2 separate regions of the Homo sapiens genome follow, and region 2 is linked to region 1. Evidence: promoter capture Hi-C in 16 types of primary human blood cells and fetal thymus (Javierre and others, 2016). All regions are on one chromosome and are shown on one strand. The core of a region is centred on a gene start or on the middle of the fragment in contact, and the rest is flanking DNA. Distances in the headings are between cores, read along the strand shown.

Region 1 (2,847 bases), core at 285-2,784:
CTGCCCGCCTCGGCCTCTCAAAGTGCTGGGATTACAGGCGTGAGCCACCACATCCGGCCTTGGACCCCTTTTCTTTCTGGAGCCCTTCACCTCCCCAGGCAAGCCCAGGTATCTCCTTGGTATCCCACATTCCCCCATTAGAGTAACCATCACAGGGGATTGTGATTAAGTATCTGCTCCCCAGACAATGAGCTCCCTGGTGCCACCACATACCTGTCTCTTGTCCACCACTGAGCTCCCATGTCCAGCCAAAGGATTGGCACACTTAATTAGTTGAATGAATGAAGGAATGTGGCTTTACCGACAATTGTAATTTTCCTTTTTTTTTTTTTTTGAAATGGAGTCTTGCTCTGTCACCCAGGTTGGAGTGCAGTGGCGCAATCTCGGCTCACTGCAACCTCCACCTCCCAGTTTCAAGCGATTCTGCTGCCTCAGCCTCCTGAATAGCTGGGACTACAGGCACACGCCACAATGCTGGGCTAATTTTTATATTTTTAGTAAAGATGGGGTTTCACCATGTTGGGCAGGATTGTCTCGATCTCCTGACCTCATGATCCACCTGCCTTGGCCTCTCAAAGTGCTGGGATTACAGGCGTGAGCCACTGCTCCCGGGCTTTTTTTTTTTTTTTTTTTTTGAGATGGAGTCTGGCTCTGTTGCCCAGGCTGGAGTGCAGTGGCGTGATCTTGGTTAACTGCAATCTCCTCCTCCCGGCTCAAGCAATTCTCCTGCCTCAGCCTCCCAAGTAGCTGGGATTATAGGTGTGTGCCACCACGCCCAGCTAGCTTTTTTATTTTTAGTAGAGACCGGTTTTCACCATTTTGGCCAGGCTGGTCTCGAACTCCTGACCTCATGTGATCCACTCACCTCAGCCTCCCAAAGTGCTGGGAATAGAGGCATGAGCCACTGCTACCGGCCGACGATTACAATTTTAAAACGTAGTTGTGCCCAGCTCTTCGCAGTTATGGAAGGGCTGATACACCGTCCTCTTTCCATCCTCACCAAAGCCCTATGATTTGGGAAAGGGAAGATTTTATCCCTATTTCTTTTTTTCTTTTTGAGACGGAGTCTCGCCCTTTGGCCCAGGTTGGAGTGCAATGGGTGGATCTCAGCTCACTGCAACCTCTGCCTCCCGGGTTCAAGAGATTCTCCTGCCTCAGCCTCCTGAGTAGCTGGGATTACAGGTGTGTGCTACCAAGCTTGGCTAATTTTTTTTTTTAATCTTTAGTGGAGACAGGGTTTCACCAGGTTGGCCAGGCTGGTCTCGAACTCCTGACCTCGTGATCCACCCACCTCGGCCTCCCAAACTGCTAGGATTACAGGCGTGAGCCACCGCGCCCGGCCTCATCCCTATTTCATAGAGGGGTAAGCTCTAGAGAGCTGAAGTGGCAACACTTGATTCTATCTCAGGTCGGCCTGATCTCAATCCTGGTATTTAGTGTAAGACCCAGATAGGTGGCCAGAACTGAAGACCCCTTGACTCCAGCTCTCAGAGAGACACTGTCTAGCGGCGAGACCTGGCACTTTTGCAAACAACTCCAGAACAAGGGGGAGAGTGGCGACAGTATAAGAGCATGCTGCGGGAAGTCAGGGGCGGTAGTATTTGAAAATGGGCGCTTGGAGAGTGGGAAGGATTTGTCCTTGTGTGGAACAAGAATAGAGGATCCTAATACGAGGGCTCAGCCTGCTTTGGCGTACTCCAAGAAAGCCCCTTGGAGGTCTGACTGCTCCGCTTCAGCCCCTTTAAGAATGGCCCCGCCCCACCCAGCCGCCCATGTCGATCTAATCTGAATGACCAATAGTAGAAGAGAAGAGACCACTTTCGCGCTTCAACCGCACTAGGAGGAGGGGAAGAGGGCGGGAGAGGCGGAATATAAGCTTGGTCACATGACCCGCCTAATTGGCCAGAGGCTGCGGCGGCCCTGAGAGACTCAGCGATGCTCATTGGCCAGAAGAGGGTGGGGGCTTGGCGCTAGGCCACGCCCCCGGGCGGCCGGTTTGGTTGCGCAGCCGCCGGGGAAGGAGACGCTGCCCTTCCGCAGCGATGGCATCCCGGGTGAGTATCGGCCCCGGCCGAGCCCCCAAGGCGGGCGGGCAGCGCGGCAGGGCCGGGACTTGAGCGGAGGACCGAGTAGGCGCAGGTGTCCGGGCCCAACAGGACCAGGAAGGTGTCGGGGTTGGAATGAGTGGGTACCCGGGCCGGGGACGGTGCGAGAGGGTGCCTTGCTTGGGAGCGGAACGAGAAGGTACTTGGGTCAGGGAGGTGATGCCCGGGCCTGGAACGTGGCGGGGATTGGAGCAGGCGCGCAGGTACCCGATCCGAGGCGGGGAGAGCACCCGGGATGGAAGGAGCAGGCGTGCGGGCCGTGAGCGGCGCCAGAGGGTACCTGGGTGAGTTTCAATGATATTCCGGGGTGGGGGCAAGAGAAGAAGGGGCTGCCCAAGATGCCTGGGGTGGAGTGAGCAATTTCTGAAGACGGGGATATTGCTGAGGTCCAACGCGGGGATGCCCGGTGCCCGGCATGGTGGGACTATTGAGGGGTCCGGCATGGGGTGAATAGGAGACTGGGCAGAGTGGCTCAAGGGAGTCGGGGACGTTGTTGGGGTCCAGACGGAATGAGTGAGTGCACAGGCCAGAGTCATTAGTGGGGTGGTCTAGCGCAGGGGAGGAGGCGCGTAGGATGATATGCTTAGGCACCCAGGCTGAGGGTGCTGTAAGTGCTGTGGTGACGGTGGAATGAGGAGGTGTCCGCCTAAGATTGTAGGGCACAAGAGATGGCTGCCCAAGTGGGGCCAGGCCCTACACAGCAGTAGAAGTGTCCATTTGGTAGGGGACCTTGCCGTGGGCT
Region 2 (2,784 bases), core at 97-2,596, 530 kb before region 1:
AACTAGTCATAAAGTTTCTCTGGCTCTATAGATTTGTCTCTTCTGGATATTTCACATAAGTGGAATTGTCCAACATGTGGCCATTCATGACTGGCTTCTCTCAGCATAATGCTTTCAAGATTGATGTTGCAGCGTATCATCAGCACTTTATTTTTATGGCCCCATAACATTCCATTATATAGATGTGGTGTTTCCTCCTGCCAAACAGGGCTGGTTGGGATTCCAAAGAAGCACTATGGCCGGGCGCAGTGGCTCATGCCTGTAATCCCAACGCTTTGGGAGGTCGAGGTGGGTGGATCAACTGAGGTCAGGAGTTCGAGACCAGCCTGACCAACATGGTGAAACCCCGCCTCTGCTAAAAATACAAAATAGCTGGGCGTGGTGGCTGGCGCGTGTAGTCCCAGCTACACGGGGAGCTGAGGCAGGAGAATCGCTTGAACCCGGGAGGCGGAGGTTGCAGTGAGCCGAGATCGAGCCACTGTACTCCAGCCTGGGGGACAGAGCAAGACTCTGTCTCAAAAAAGCAGCATTAAACCCAAAACATTTATTAGGGAAGCTTACAGAGTGGGCTGCAGCAATTCTCGCGACAGACAGAGAGAAGCGGTGTTTCACCTAGGTACATCCCCAGCGAGGGGTCAGGGTATGAAGTTTATATGAGGGTTTATGGAATTTGGCTAAAAGCAGGGGTCAGTTTCAGCGTTTTGGGCAATAACCTAGATATCCTTAGTGCCTAGGGATATGCAAGGCCCGTGTTTGGTTGCAAGTCTGCAGGAAAAAACTTGCAGCTGGCTGGGTCACAGGGCGGTCAAGGCACTCTGATACTTGGTCAGTGCACAGAAAGCGGGGGAACTCGGGAACCGCGCACATAGTACTATATTTTATTTATCCATTCACCAATGGATGGACGTTTGGGTTGCTTTCACTTTTTGGCTATTATGAATAACACTGCTGTGAACATTCATGGACAAGTTTTTATATATACATAGGTTTCATTTCTTTGGCGTATTTTATATATATATATATATTTACCTAGGAGAATTGCTGGGTCAAATGGTAATTGTTTAACCTTTTGAGGAACTGCCAGACTGTCTTCCACAGCAGGTGCTTCATTTTACAGTCCCATGAGCAGTGTATGAGGGTTCCAGTTTCTGCACAGTCTCAAGGCACAGACAAATTTTCAGCAGCCCCGGGGATTGGGAGCGGTGGTTACCTCTGCGGAACGTGCCCCGACAGCCAAGCCCTGCGCGCAGGCGCACTGGTGGGAGGGCGGGAACGCGGGAGCGTCGCCGGAGGTGGGGCGTGCAGGCGTTAGGGGCGGGGCTGTGCTGCGCGCGCGTCCCGGAAGCAGAAGCCTGTGTGGCCTTCCCGGCGGCTGATTCGAGGGCTTGTTTGGTCAGAAGGGGGGCGTCAGAGAAGCTGCCCCTTAGCCAACCATGCCGTCTGAGGGTCGCTGCTGGGAGACCTTGAAGGCCCTACGCAGTTCCGACAAAGGTCGCCTTTGCTACTACCGCGACTGGCTGCTGCGGCGCGAGGTGAGCGGTGGCCCCGGAGGACGTAGGCCTTTCCGGCCCCTCGCGACCGAAACCTTCTCCCTAGCCGTTGGCACGTTCTGCTCCCGGGAACCCGTGCAGTCTAACAACCTGCATTTATTTCTTGACTTCTGTGTGTACATCCCTCTGTCCTGGGGTTTCTGTCCTCTTCAGCCTATTTTAGCGTTTCGGGGAGCTCCCCTGACTTCACAGGTGCCCCGCGCTCTGAAGGCTTCATTGCTACCCTCCGCCAGTTGGGCGCCTTCTCCGTTCTGCTGTTGTCAAAGCAATCTCGGCCCCAGGTTCAGTTAACTTACTGTATGTCTCATGTGCTGGGAGCTCTAGAGTTTGCGACGAACGATTGACACGACCTAATCCATTGCTACTAGTGAAATGACCAAATTTTTAGATTGATTTGGCAGACCTGGAAAGTGAATGGGGGCGTGGTCACCGTACCTAGCATTTGCAAAGCTCTGCGCGAGAAGTGGAGGGATGTGGAGAGTTAAGGCCGAGCTCCCATTCCCGAGTCGCTGCTAGTTAGCTACAGATAAGGCGTTGTCCTGCATCCTCAGACTTCTTGGGAAACAATCCTAAAGTATTTCCCTGTCTTTTATGTTGTTGACAGTTTTGAAAAATACAGACCTTACATTCTGTAGGTTGACTGCCAGCATATGTGCTTTCAAACCACCAGACCAAGGTTAAGCATTCTTGGCAGGAATACCACAGAAATGATGCCATGGCTTTCTCAGTAAGTCACATGAGGAGGCACACAGATGTCAACCCATCCCAACACTGGTGATGCTAATCTTGATCACCTGGTTACGTTATTATCTGCCTGGTCTCTCCGTTTAAAATTCGTCATTTTTCCCTTAGTAATTGTTGGGAAGTAATAATACCAGTATCCTTTTTTCTGGGCAAACCTTAATCCTCCATGGCTTTAGCATTCATTGATGTTTTCCACATGAATCGATACCTCTATGACGTTGCCAGATCCTGTTTCTTTATATCCGCTATTCCTTCTGCATTTGTTAGTTGGCATTCTACTGTAAGGAGGTGCTTTCTATTTTATTCAGTGAGTTGTAATCCATTACTTTTATTATTTATTTATTTTATTTTAAATGTCCCAGATTTTGTAAGCTTGTATCAAAATAATCACATGCAAGGCTAGGCGTGGTGGCTCAGGCCCGTAATCCCAGCACGTTGGGAGGCCGAGGGGGACGGATCACTTGAGGTCAAGAGTTCGCGACCAGCCTGG

Evidence for each region. Contacts are between HindIII fragments. The CHiCAGO score rates a contact against its expected background, and 5 or more counts as called.
Region 2: the fragment with the promoter of GLE1 here is called in contact with a fragment that was not itself captured in region 1 in 1 of 17 cell types (naive CD4 T cells); the score reaches 5.0 in naive CD4 T cells.

Annotation. Positions count from the first base shown.
Region 1 is chr9:129,034,628-129,037,474 of GRCh38, forward strand. It overlaps MIGA2 (mitoguardin 2), which reads left to right and starts at 1,999. Exons shown (of 16, transcript NM_001329990.2): 1 at 1,999-2,054. RefSeq lists a silencer at 1,984-2,113 and an enhancer at 2,454-2,583. The HindIII fragment of the contact is 679 bases long and covers 1,196-1,874 here.
Region 2 is chr9:128,503,373-128,506,156 of GRCh38, forward strand. GLE1 (GLE1 RNA export mediator) reads left to right here and starts at 1,347. Exons shown (of 16, transcript NM_001003722.2): 1 at 1,347-1,532. The coding sequence starts at 1,434. RefSeq lists a silencer at 1,158-1,367 and an enhancer at 1,588-1,747. The HindIII fragment of the contact is 2,110 bases long and covers 555-2,664 here.